Linked DNA regions of Homo sapiens: all the other regions are linked to region 3. The links are contacts of gene promoters, found by promoter capture Hi-C in blood cells and fetal thymus (Javierre and others, 2016). All regions are on one chromosome and are shown on one strand. The core of a region is centred on a gene start or on the middle of the fragment in contact, and the rest is flanking DNA. Distances in the headings are between cores, read along the strand shown. Region 1 holds the start of LAT2 (linker for activation of T cells family member 2). Region 2 has its middle 16 kb from the start of CLDN4. Region 3 holds the start of ELN (elastin).

Region 1 (3,980 bases), core at 837-3,336, 180 kb before region 3:
CATGCCTGTGGTTCCAGCTACTTGGGACACTGAGGCAAGAGAATTGCTTGAGCCCAGGAGTTGGAAGCTGCAGTGAGCCAAGATCACACCACTGAACTCCAGCCTGGGTGACAGAGCAAGACCCCATCTCTAAAAACAAAAAATGAAATTTAACAAACAGTCATGTGTCTGCCCCCAGACTGAATACATCCTGCGCTGTTGGCCGGGTGCGGTAGTTCACACCTGTAATCCCAACACTTTGGGAGGCTGAGGCGGGCAAATCATCTGAGGTCAGGAGTTCAAGACCAGCCTGGCCAACATGGTGAAACCCTGTCTCTACTAAAAATAAAAAATTAGGCCAGGCACGGTGGCTCACACCTGTAATCCCAGCACTTTGGGAGGCCGAGGCAGGCAGATCACAAAGTCAGGAGATTGAGACCATCCTGGCTAACATGGCGAAACCCCGTCTCTACTAAAAATACAAAAAATTAGCCGGTCGTGGTGGCAGGCGCCTCTAGTCTCAGCTACTCGGGAGGCTGAGGCAGGAGAATGGCATGTACCCGGGAGGTGGAGCTTGCAGTGAGCCAAGATTGCACCACTGCACTCCCAGCCTGGGAGACAGAGCAAGACTGTCTCCAAAAAATAAAAAATAAATAAAAAATAAAAAATTAGCCAGGTGTGGTAGCACGTGCCTGTAGTCCCCAGCTACTTGGAAGGGTAAGGCAGGAGAACTGCTTGAACCTGGGAGGTGGAGGTTGCAGTGAGCCGAGATCACGCCACTGCACTCCAGCCTGGACAACAGAGTGAGACTCCGTTTAAAAAAATTCTGTGCTCTCTCTCTGTCTCTGTCTCCCTTTGTGTCTCTGTCTCGCTCTCACTTTCACTCTCCCATCCAGGTTCTGAAAGCAGGTGGGCTGAGGTGGAGGGAGCGGAGGGTGGACCCTCTGAGGCCCCCAGGGGCCGGCAGGGCTGGGCGGGGTGGGGAGTGGGGGCTGCCACAGACCACGGTTCTGCAGAGGCCAAAATAGCACTAAAGGGAAGTGGGCAGTTTTCATATGAACAACGATTGCCAAGAGCTGGCTTCGGGGAAGTTCTCGGGGCTGGGCTGGAGGAGCTACAGTGTCTGAATCCCGCCTGGAAGGACGCTCGAGACCACCCTGCCGGTTCTCCCAGCCTTCTCCGAGCTGAGCTGTGGTTGGGGACACTGGGGTTGGGGAGGGGGCAGCCTGGCTTGAAGCCCTGGATGGCTTTATCCACTGGACTCTGCTCTGGGGTCTGTTGGTTTTTTCATTTAGTTTTTAATTATATTTTTTTATTTTTATTTTTTAAAGAGATGGGAGTCTCACTATGTTGCTCAGGCTGGTCTCCAGCTCCTGACTTCAAATGATCCTCCCGCCTTGGCCTCCCCAAATGCTGGGATTACAGGTTGAGCCACCGTGCCCGGCTGGTCCTGTTGCTTTTTCCAAATAACTCTGGGCTTCAAATGAGCCTAGCTGGGAGGGAGAGAGGGAGGCGGGCGGGTGCAGGAGGGGCCTGAGCAGCCCTGGTCCCAGGGACAGAGTTGAGGGCCAGGTAGGGGGCTGGGCAGGGAGGCAGTGGGGGTTCTTCACCTGACCTGGGGCAAGACCTGGGCCCTGGCCTGTAATCCCACCGTTTTCCCCTGACCTGTGTAGGGGGTTACAGTCCCATTTCACGGATGAGGAAACCGAGGCTCCCAGGCCAGGGCAGCCACTGTTTTGGCTCTCGGCCACTTACTTCACCAGTCTCTGGCAATGATGGGACCACCCTGGGATGTCCCAAGGCTACACAGGCTGGACAGGGGAAGGCGAGGGCAAGAGAGTGGCCAGAAGCCCAGAAACAAACTGACCCCTGAAGTGCCACAGAGCCTGGTGCCAGGGTGAGAGTGGGGCTGCGGGAGGGGGCGCCAGGCATCCAGGCCTCTTCCCACCCCACCCAGTGGGGCCAGGAGCTCCTGGGGGATGGGGGACAGCCTGAGGACTGAGGCACCCCTGGGAAAGGCTTACCTGAGAGTCCAGGGTTCCTCACCACGGCCGCCCCATCCTGAGCCCGCACACCTGCCCAAGCTGATGCCAACACCACTGACACTGGCGGGCGGGCAGGGCGGGCTTCCTGCCAGCCACTGAATCATCCGTACATCCGCCGCACTGCCGGACAGGCTCAGCTATGAAGAGGGCGGTGGGGGGAAGGGAGGGGAGACGGGGGAAGGAGGCGGGAGAGAGAGAGAGAAGAGAAACAAAGTGAGAGGGAGAAAGAGAAGAAAGAGAGATAGGACCGGGCGAGGTGGCTCACACCTGTAATCCAAAAACTTTGGGAGGCCGAGGCGGGTGGATCACGTAAGGTCAAGAGTTTAAGACCAGCCTGGCCAACATGGTGAAACCCCGTCTCTATTAAAAATACAAAATTAGCTGGGCATGGTGGCATGTGTCTGTAATTCCAGCTACTCGGGAGGCTGAGGCAGGAGAATCGTTTGAACCTCAGAAGCAGAGGTTGCAGTGAGCCGAGATCGCACCACTGCACTCCAGCCTGGGTGACAGAGGGAGACTCCGTCTCAAAAAACAGAAAGAAAAAGAGAGAGACACAGCAGAGAGACACAAGAGAACAGGAAAATATGGACACACACTAAACACACACATAAACACAAAAAGTCACACAGAGAGGAAGAGAGATACACTCCAATAGACAGGGAGCAAGATAATGAAACTGAGGTGCTCCTGCAGATGGCAGATATGGAGACACACATACGCTAAAAAGACACACACAGGCAGAAATTCACACCCATGGGCCGGGCGCGGTGGCTCATGCCTGTAATCCCAGCACTTTGGGAGGCCAAGGCAGGCAGGTCATGAAGTCAGGGGTTCAAAACCAGCCTGACCAACATGGTGAAACCCCATATCTACCAAAAATACAAAAATTATCTGGGTGTGGTGGCGGGTGCCTGTAATCCCAGCTACTCGGGAGGCTGAGGCAGGAGAATTGCTTGAACCCAGGAGGTGGAGGTTGCAGTGAGCCAAGATAGCGCCACTGCACTCCAGCCTGGGTGACAGAGCAAGACTTCATCTCAAAAAAAAAAAAAAAAAGAAGAAGACACACACAGGCAGAAATTCATACCCATGGGCCAGGCACGGTGGCTCATGCCTGTAATCCCAACACTTTGGGAGGCTGAAGCAGGAGAATCACCTGAGGTCTGGAGTTCAAGACCAGCCTGGCCAACATGGTGAAACCCCATCTCTACAAAAAATTTAAAAATTAGCTGGGCATGAGATGGACCAAGACACACACAGAGAGACACACAGAAAGATACAGAGAGCCACAGACTGTCAGAGACACACACAGATGGGGAGAGAGCAAGAAACAGGGAGATAGAGGCCAGGTGCAGTGGCTTGCACCTGCAATCCTAACATTTTTGGAGGCTGAGGCAGGAGGATCGCTTGAGAACAGGAATTTGAGACCAGCCTGGACAACAGAACGAGACCCCATCTCTAAAAAAATTTTTTTAATTAGCTGGGTGTGGTGGCACACACCTGTAGTCCCAGTGTTTTGGGAGGCCAAAACGGGAGGATTTCTTGAGCCCAAGAGTTGGAGGCTGCAGTGAGCCGTGACTCTGCCACTGCACTCCAGCCTGGGGGACAGCAAGACCCTGTCTGTCTGTAAAAACAATAAATAGGCCGGGCGTGGTGGCTCACATCTGTAATCCCAGCACTTTGGGAGGCCAAGGCAGGTGGATCACCTTATTTAGGTCGGGAGTTTGAGACCAGCCTGGCCAAAATGGTGAAACCCCATCTCTACTAAAAATACAAAAATTTGCCGGGTGTGATGGTGGGTGCCTGTAATCCCAGCTACTTGGGAGGCTGAGGCAGGAGAATCACTTGAGCCCAGAAGGCGGAGTTTGCAGTGAGCCAAGATCGTGCCACTGCACTACAGCCTGGACAACAGAGCGAGACTCCATCTCAAAAAAACAAAACAAAAACAAAAAAACCCAA
Region 2 (4,364 bases), core at 6-2,505, 210 kb after region 3:
CTCACTCTTAGTTCCTGCAAGAACTGGTTGTTGAAGAGAGCCTGCCACCTCCTTGCCCCACTCCCCACCAACTCTCTCTACCTTCTTCTGTCATCATGTGATCTGCAAACACCTTTGGAAACTTCCTGAGGTTCTCACCATAAACGGGTGCTGGCTGGGCGAGGTGGCTCACGCCTGTGAATCCAAAGCTTTGGGAGGCCAAGGCTGGGGAGGATTACTTGAGCCCAGAAGTTCAAGACCAGCCGGAGCAACGTAGTGAGATTCCATCTCAAAAAAAAAGGACATTTTTTAATTAGCCAGGTGTACCAGTGCACACCTATAGTCCCAGTTACTTGGGAGGCTGAGGTGGGAGGATCACTTGAGCCAAGGAGTTGGAGGCAGCAGTGAGCTAGGATCTCACCACTGCACTCCCACCAGGCAGCAGAGTGAAACCTTGTCTCTCATAAAGAGGCAGATTTCGAGACCAGCCTGGCCAACATAGAGAAACCCCGTCTCTACTAAAAATACAAAAATTAGCTGGGCGTGGTGGTGAACACCTGTAGTCCCATCTACTCAGGAAGCTGAGGCAGGAGAATTGCTTGAACCCAAGAGGTGGAGGTTGCAGTGAGCCCAGATTGCACCACTGCACTCCAGCTCTGGAGGAACAGAATGAGACTCTGTCTAAAAAAAAAAAAAAAAAAAAAAAGCAGCAGATGCTGGCACCATGCGTCCTGTACAGCCTGCAGAACCATGAGCCAAATACACCTCTTTCCTTATAAATTTATCCAGCCTTGGGGGGAAGGGGGAGGGATAGCATTGGGACAAATACCTGATGTAAATGATGAGTTAATGGGTGCAGCACTCTAACATGGCACGTCTACATATCTAACAAAGCTGCAGGTTGTGCACATGTACCCTAGAACGTAAAGTATAAAAAAAAAAAAAACCTTATCCAGCCTCAAGTATTCCTTTATAGCAGCACAAAAGGGTCGAAGTCATCCAGAGAAGCCAGAATCTTCAGGGTGAGATGCTGAGAAGAGCTTCAGTGCAGGTGTGCCAGCCCAGGGACAGTGCGGGGACGGCAAGGGGACAGAGGCAGCAGACGATCAGCTCAAGGCAGGATGGACCTGCTTCCTTGCCTGGCTTCCTCATCCAGCCCATCCTTGCCCAGGCCCCAGAGCTACCCAAGGGCTGGGTCATACCAGCGAACACACACACAAGGCTCTCCCTGTCCCCATGTCCCCAGCTCCGTGACCACCAAAGCCACAATTCCCTGCTCTCTCTCCAGCATCTGACCCAGCACCCTGTACGTCTGGCTTCACCGCTTTTGGGGATGTGGCATTCCCTGTCCCATCTAACATCACCATGGATGAGTCTGGTCCAAAATGACCTTCCCAATTATTTCCCTTCTCTGTGTTCTGGATGGACTGGGGAGAGATCAGACCTTTTTATCTTGGAGGACAAGGCCAGTAACAATTATTTATTTATTTATTTATTTTTATTTTTGAGACGGAGTTTCGCTCTTGATACCTGGGCTGGAGTGCAATGGCGTGATCTCGGCTCACTGCAACCTCCGCCACCCGGGTTCAAGCAATTCTCCTTCCTCAGCCTCCCGAGTAGCTGGGACTACAGGAGCACACCACCACGCCCAGCCAATTTTGTATTTTTAGTAGAGACGGGGTTTCTCCGTGTTGGTTAGGCTGGTCTCAAACTCCTGACCTCAGGTGATCCGCCCACCTCGGCCTCCCAAAGTGCTGGGATTACAGATGTAAGCTGCTACACCCAGCTCTTTTCTATTTTTTATTTTTTAGAGACAGGGTCTTACTCTGACACCCAGGCTGGAGTACAGTGGTGCGATCATAGTTCACTGCAGCCCTAATCTCCTGGGGCTCAAGTGACCATCCAGCCTTAGCTTCCTGAGTAGCTGGAACCACAGGTGCATGCCAACATGCCCAGTTAAATTTTTTTTTTTTTTTTTGGTAGAGGCAGGGTCTTGCTATGTTTCCCAGGCTGGTCTTGAACTCCTGGCATCAAGTGATCCTTCCACCTTGGCCTCCCAAACTGCTGGGATTATAGACATAAGGCACTACACCCAGCTCTTGTTTGTAGTTTCTCTTTGTAGTGATGAAAATGTTCTAAAATTGACCGTGATGATGGTTGCACACCTCTGTGAGTATCCTAAAAGCCATTGAAATGTGCATTTTGAAAGGGGGAATTGTATGATATGTGACTTCTATGTCAATAAAGCTGCTTCAAAAACAATAATTAGCACTTCTCGAATGCCTGTCCAATGCCAGGCTGGCCCCCCACAGACACTATTAACCCGCAGGACACAGAAGCTTGGTGGATTAAAGTGACTCACCCAGAGTCACACAGCTAGTGGAGTTAGAATTTGAACCCAGAACCACTGGTAAACAGTTATAGCTCAATAAAGCTGCCTCAGCTATTCTGGAGGCTGAGGAGGGAGGATCACTCCGGCCCAGAAGTTTTTGGGGTTTTTTATTTTTGTTTTTGAGATGGAGTCTCACTCTGTCACCCAGGCTGGGGTACAGGGGTGCGATCTCAGCTCACTGCAACCTCCTCCTCCCAGTTTCAAGCAATTCTCCAGACTCAACCTCCCAAGTAGCTGGGATTACAGGCACATGCCACCAAGCCCAGCTAATTTTTGTATGTTTAGTAGAGACAAGGTTTCACCATGTTGGCCAGGCTGGTCTCGAACCCCTGACCTCAGGTGATCCACCTGCCTCAGCCTCCCAAAGTGCTGGGATTACAGGCATGAGCCACCGTGCCTGGCCCAAGCCCAGAAGCTTGAAGCTGCAGTGAGCCATGACTGGGCCACTGCACTCCAGCCTGGGTGACAGAGTAAGCCCCTGTTTCTTAACAAAAAGAGAAATTCCAAACCCTTTATCCCTATTCCATATATTTCATATATCCCTAAGTGATTAATCTTTCTGTCATGATGGATTTGCCTATTCTGGACATTTCAAAGTAGGCATGGAATCATAGGTCTATGAAATGTCCAGAATCATGGAATCAATAATCACATATTATAGAGGCTTTGTGTCTGGTTTCTTTCACTTAGCATAATGTGTAACCAGGGTGTGTAACCATAACAAGCATCAAGTCTACCCAAGTTTGTTTCCAAGACATTACTGAGCCCCAAACTCACTTATGCTAGGGAGGAACTCAGAAACCCATAGGGCAGTTCTCCAAGGGCTTCTGGTCAGGCCATGGACATTCAGGAGGTGGTCAGAGCTGCCTGAGATGACGCAGGGCTGTGATAAGGGTGTGGAGACACAGCAAGGTAGTGGAAATTCAGGGTTCCTAGGTCCAGCATGTCCAAAAAAAAAAAAAAAAAAAAAAACCACAGCCTGCTAAAACAAAAATATCAACATTCTCCATAGAATTGTATAAAGATCCAGATTCCTATATCCTAATATTTAAAATATCTTGGAGACACTCCAAAATTACTCAGCATACAAAGAGCCGGGAGAATTTCAACTCACAGGAGAAAAGACTATCAACAGTGGTCAATGTTGAGATGACAAAACATTGGAAATATCAGATCAAGACTTTAAAGCAATTATTATCAAAATGTTGCAAGAAAGGCCAACACTCTTGAAATCAATGGAAATATAGAAAGTCTTTGCAAAGAAGAGAAGATGTAAAGAAGAGCCAAACAATTTTTTGTTTTCTTTTGAGACAGGGTCTCCCTCTGTCACCCAGGCTGGAGTACAGTGGCATGATCATAGTTCACTACAGCCTCGACCTCCCAGGTTCAAGTGATCCTCTCACGTCAGCCTCCAGAGTAGCCAAGACTACAGACATGAGCCACCACACTGTCAATATTTTATTTTTTTGTAGAAATGAGGTCTCGCTATGTTGCCCAGGCTGGTCTCAAACTCCTGGTCTCAAGAGATCCTCCCGCCTCGGCCTCCCAAAGTGCTGGGACTACAGGCATGAGCCACTGCACCCAGCCCCAAACAGAAATTTTACATGTCTGTAATTCTAGCACTTTGGGAGGCAAAGGCAGGAAGATCTCTTGAGTCCAGCAGTTCAAGACCTGCCTGGGTGACAAAGCAAGACCCCATATCTACAAAAAAATTAAAAATTAGCCAGGCATGGTGGCTTGTGCCTGTGGTCCCAGCTACTCGGGAAGCTGAGATGGGAGGATTGTTTGAGCCCAGAAGGAGGCTGCAGTGAGCCATGACTGCACCACTGCATTCCAGCCTGGGTGACAGAACAAGACCCTGTATAAAAAATAAATAAATAAATGAAAATAAAAAAATTTAAATAAAGTTTAGAACTGAACAATATAATAACCGCAATGATAAAACAAAGCCAGGCTGGGCACGGTGGCTCAAGTCTGTAATCCCAGCACTTTG
Region 3 (4,290 bases), core at 1,003-3,502:
GGGTTAATTTCTCATGCTCACTTTTGAAACAGCCTGGGAGCTGTGCGGCTTGTCCCCTCCTCCTGCTCCCCCACCCCCGCAACAGGGTTCCTTCCTTGGAGCCGCTGAACTTGCATAAGTGACACCCTCCTCCTTGAGGGAGAAGCCAGGCTCCCCCAGGACAGCCAGGTGAGTGGCAGTGAGCATGTGACTGAGCGCTCCACTCCCTGTGTTGGCTCCCCGACCTCTGCAGACTTCAGTAGCACTTCTGTGCAAAACCCCACACGAGCTCATCAGTTCACACACCCCTTATTTGGACCTAGCAAGTCCAGCCACCTGGGACAGAGCTGAGATTGATCTCTGCAAAGTGTGAGGCCAGCTGGGCGTTTAGCGGTGTCACTGAGGACACAAGGAGAGAGCTGATTCTGCCTAGGGCATGCCTGCTTTAAGGACTCAGCCCCAAGCCTTCCCCTCCCCAAATGTTGCCTGCTAGCTCACTCCTAACCCCCTTGCCCCTTGACCTGGGGCAGAGAGCTGGCTGATACTAACCCCCGGGGACTGCCTTAGCCTGCCGGAGCCTCAGCTTCCTTGTTTGTCAAGTGATGATAATAATTTCTAATTCTCAAGGTTCCTTGATGATGAACTGCCACCCTATAGGTGGTGGCCCCATCTGGGAAGAAGGGTGGCTGGGTGTTTGGGGGCTACACCTGGGGAGGAGGCTGAGACGGACCCGGGGCTGCTGCTTTCAGGCCCTGGCTCGTTGCCCCTGCTGGGGCCCGCCTGTGGGTACCCATGTCCCTTGGCCTCATCCAGGTCCAGCAGCGGACCCTGCACAGGAAGCTGTTCAATCTCACGGAAACAGCTGCAGCTCCTGCCCAGGCCCTTGACTCCACCCCGTGGCCCTCCCGCCCCCCACTCAGCGTTTGGTTCTCATGGCAAGGAGGACTCCCGAGGAAACCAGACTCCACCCAGACCCCCCTACCAAATGCCCTCCTTTTTCCCATGCCCGGGAGCCTCTTCTGTCCTCCCCCGTTGGCCGCGGCATAGCAGCCCCACAGGGCACACCCTCAAACCCCATAACCAACTGTGCCTGGGTTGGGGCACATAGCAGATGGCCCAGCAGTGCCCCAGGATCCACTCCAGCCTCTGTCTCAGCCACACTGCCTCTGCCAGGAGACAGACACCTTCTCCAGCCCGCCTTTCCATGCTTGCGTGCCACATCGCACACACATTCACACACACAGATGTACACACTCCATAACACACACAGTGACAGTCCACACCAGTGTCACACCTGGATGCCAGATCGCCCATGTCTACATGTGTACATGTCTACATGTCTGTCAGGTGGCAGACTTTTGCACACACTAAGGAGCAGCTTCATATACCTCCTCCAAACATACGCATACACCTGCCTAAGGATGAACCTGTGAGCAGACATATGTACCCCTCCAGAAATCCCTTTCCCTGTTCAGTGACACAGCCGGGCATCTGAACACATGCACACCTGTGCATGCACACATACACACACGAGCACACAGCACGCTCATTCCTGTGTGCATGCACACACACACACACACACAAATGCATACCAGGAGTCCCTGCCTGCCTCAGCAGGGAGAACACAGCAGCAGCTTCCCAACCTGCAAACCCATCCTCAGCGGAGCCCTGACCTTCCTGACGGGGGGATCCCGGCTTCCCAGGGGTCAAGGAACCTGCTGAGGTCACACAGCTCACTGCGGTTGAGCTGGTATCAAGCCCAGGTTCCCTGTCCCCAGGGCTGGTGTGCACCCCAGCTGTGTCCACAGGTGTGCAGACTGTGGTGTCTCCAGACCCAGGGGTTCCCGCTGGGCCCTCCCCCAGGATGCTCTGATCCCCCTACAGGGCGGGCACCCGGGCACCTGAGCAGGGGCCCCCTCAGCCCTCGCAGGGCAGCAAAGCCTGGATGCTGGGCTGGGACTATTCTGAGTCGAGGGTGTCTCTTTGACAGGTTCCTCCTGGGCACGGGGCTGGCTCCTGGGAGGGGCAGTTCCGAGGACCCAGTGGCTGAGGGGCTCCCACCTGGGACCCCTTGCAGTTCCCAGGGACGAAGGTCTCCCCCTTGAGCGTCTAGTCACCTGGCCCAAAGGGCCCGCAGCTGTGGGCAGCGCTGGGGACAGGGGCGAGGGGTCCTTACCTCCAGGCCGAGAGGGGTGGAGGATGGACAGCAGGAGCAGGAGGACTCCGGGCCGCGGGGCCGCCGCCGTCAGACCCGCCATCTCGGGGAGAAATGCCCCAGCCCGCTCTCCGCACCTCGTTTTATCCCCAAAGCCTAATTGTTGCCTCGTCGGCTGTGAGGGAAAGAGGGAGGGAGAGAGGGCGGGCGGGAGGGCGGGAGAGGGGGGAGGCCTGGGGGAGGGGGCCGCGGGGAGGGGACAATTACGAAAGGCCCGGCTCACAAGCCTCCCAGGCCCGGGCTGCTGGACTGCGAGCTTTTTTCCTTGACACACACACGCACACACATGCACACAAGCACACACTCACACACACACACTTTCCCCCATCTCTTTCCCGCTTTCCCTCTGCGACTGTTCTTTCGCTGCTGGCCCTGTTCCCGCCAGAAAGAGCGAGGGGGGCCTCTGCCAGGACAGCCCTCGGGAGAGGAAGCAGAAGGGAGGGCCTGGCGGCCAGGCCAAAAATCCCAGCCCCAGCCAAGGCCCGAGTGGCCAGGCCCCCGCCCCTCCGGCTGGGCCCCGGGCCCAGTGTGAGGATACGGGCCAGCTGTCCCGCGCCTCAGCCCCCACCCCGGCCCTCCAGACTCCCCAACACCCCCAGGTCTGGCTAGAGACAGGTTCTGCCCAAAGCTGGGGAGGGGAGGCATTGGGCAGGTCTGGGGGTTTGGGGGGTGCGATGTCTACAGAGGCCGGGGGGCTGCAGGTTGAATGGCCTGGAAGGTAGGCCCGGGTTGGTATTGCTCTGGGAGGGATCTGGGGGGAAGGTAGGGGACCCTGGACAGGGCTGCATTCTGCAGGGGCCAAGGTCTCTGCCTAGCGCCTGAAGCTGGGGAGGAGGTGTTGGGTGGGTCTGGGGTGGATGCCTGCAGATGCCAGGGGGTTAGAGGCAGGGGAATGGCTTGGGAGTTAAGGCCATGTTGGTGCTGTCCCCAGGGGCATCTGGAGCACATGGAGGATCCCGACACACAGGGTTCTATTCTGCATGGGTCAAGGTCACAGCCCTATACCCAGCCCCATGCAGGCCGCAGGGTCTGGTAAAAATCAGGCTGGATCCCCAGGTGCCCTGTGGGGGAACAGGGAGGTGGGAGCCCCCCGCAGACTGACAGGCAGCCCAGCTTCCCATTATCACTGGGTCACCTCCCATCCCCACGCTGAGCACAGCTAGCGCCCACACCAGTCTGGGAGCTTCTCGACTGCTGTTCTCCCGGCCCCTCTGGGAAGGCTGACATTCCGCTGGTGGCCAGGAGGGGGCGGCCTGCACTGAAACAGCTGGGACCACGTTCCTGGAGAACTCTGCATTTCTGCCCCCAGGACTGAGCTGGACGGGGACCCTGGGGGATTTTGGGGGTTGGAGTGTGGGATGGAACAGGGGAGGGTCGTGTCCCCCACCCCTCACTTCCCACTACTGCTAGAGGAGAAGAAATGTGAGACCTAGAGAATAGGAGAGGGAAACTTGTTCCTTGTCCTAGGTCACAGCCAGTCAGGGAACAGCATGGAAGCCACACGCCCTGTGGGCTTTTCCCTGCACCACGATGGCTCCGAGGGATGAGTTAAAGACCCCTTGTGGAGGCAGGAGCACTGTGGCAGTCTGGAGTGCCAGCAGGGGTGGCTCAGCGTGGAAAGGTCAAATGCAGGCATTGGTCAAAGGCAGGTATTGGTGGACCTAGAAGTAAATTTCTGGCTCTAGCCTTTCTGGTAGGAAAACCTCTCCACAGAGCATCAGTTTCCTTATCTGTCTACAGGTGATCAGTATTCCTAGCTAAGAGATTATTGCAAAGACAAATACAACGTGGTCTTGTATTTCTGCTAGATCAAAAATGCTCTGTGTTCAGCTGGTGCTAGGACTGGTGTCAATACCACAGTTGCCGTCACTCGCTCTGCAAGTACTCTGCTTCTAGGACAGCTATCAGGCTTTGGTCTATACGGGGCCACCCCAGGACCCTGGACAAACCCTTCCTTTTCCCTGGGTCTTTGGAGGGAGCAGCTCTGGAATTTTGGAAGGTAGGGGCATGCTGGGAGAATTGTCTTGAAGATGTACGCACACAGCCAGTGTACAGCTCTTACTTACGGTGTGTGTTTATTTGGGGGTGCTTTGAGG

Evidence for each region. The method cuts DNA at HindIII sites, captures the fragments that hold promoters and counts their contacts. A CHiCAGO score of 5 or more calls a contact.
Region 1: a contact is called between the fragment with the promoter of LAT2 here and the fragment with the promoter of ELN in region 3, in 1 of 17 cell types (erythroblasts). The highest score is 7.7, in erythroblasts.
Region 2: a contact is called between a fragment that was not itself captured here and the fragment with the promoter of ELN in region 3, in 1 of 17 cell types (M0 macrophages). The highest score is 5.2, in M0 macrophages.

The regions. Positions count from the first base shown.
Region 1 is chr7:74,208,112-74,212,091 of GRCh38, reverse strand. It overlaps LAT2 (linker for activation of T cells family member 2), which reads right to left and starts at 2,086. Exons shown (of 14, transcript NM_032464.3): 1 at 2,004-2,086. RefSeq lists silencers at 963-1,052, 2,163-2,212 and enhancers at 1,153-1,272, 2,493-2,602. The HindIII fragment of the contact is 29,775 bases long and covers 1-3,980 here.
Region 2 is chr7:73,812,422-73,816,785 of GRCh38, reverse strand. No RefSeq gene overlaps it. Among named protein-coding and RNA genes, the nearest start is that of CLDN4, 16 kb to the left of the region's middle. The HindIII fragment of the contact is 2,130 bases long and covers 191-2,320 here.
Region 3 is chr7:74,026,135-74,030,424 of GRCh38, reverse strand. It overlaps ELN (elastin), which reads right to left and starts at 2,252. Exons shown (of 33, transcript NM_000501.4): 1 at 2,156-2,252. The coding sequence starts at 2,237. RefSeq lists enhancers at 925-1,896, 2,869-3,841. The HindIII fragment of the contact is 20,716 bases long and covers 1-4,290 here.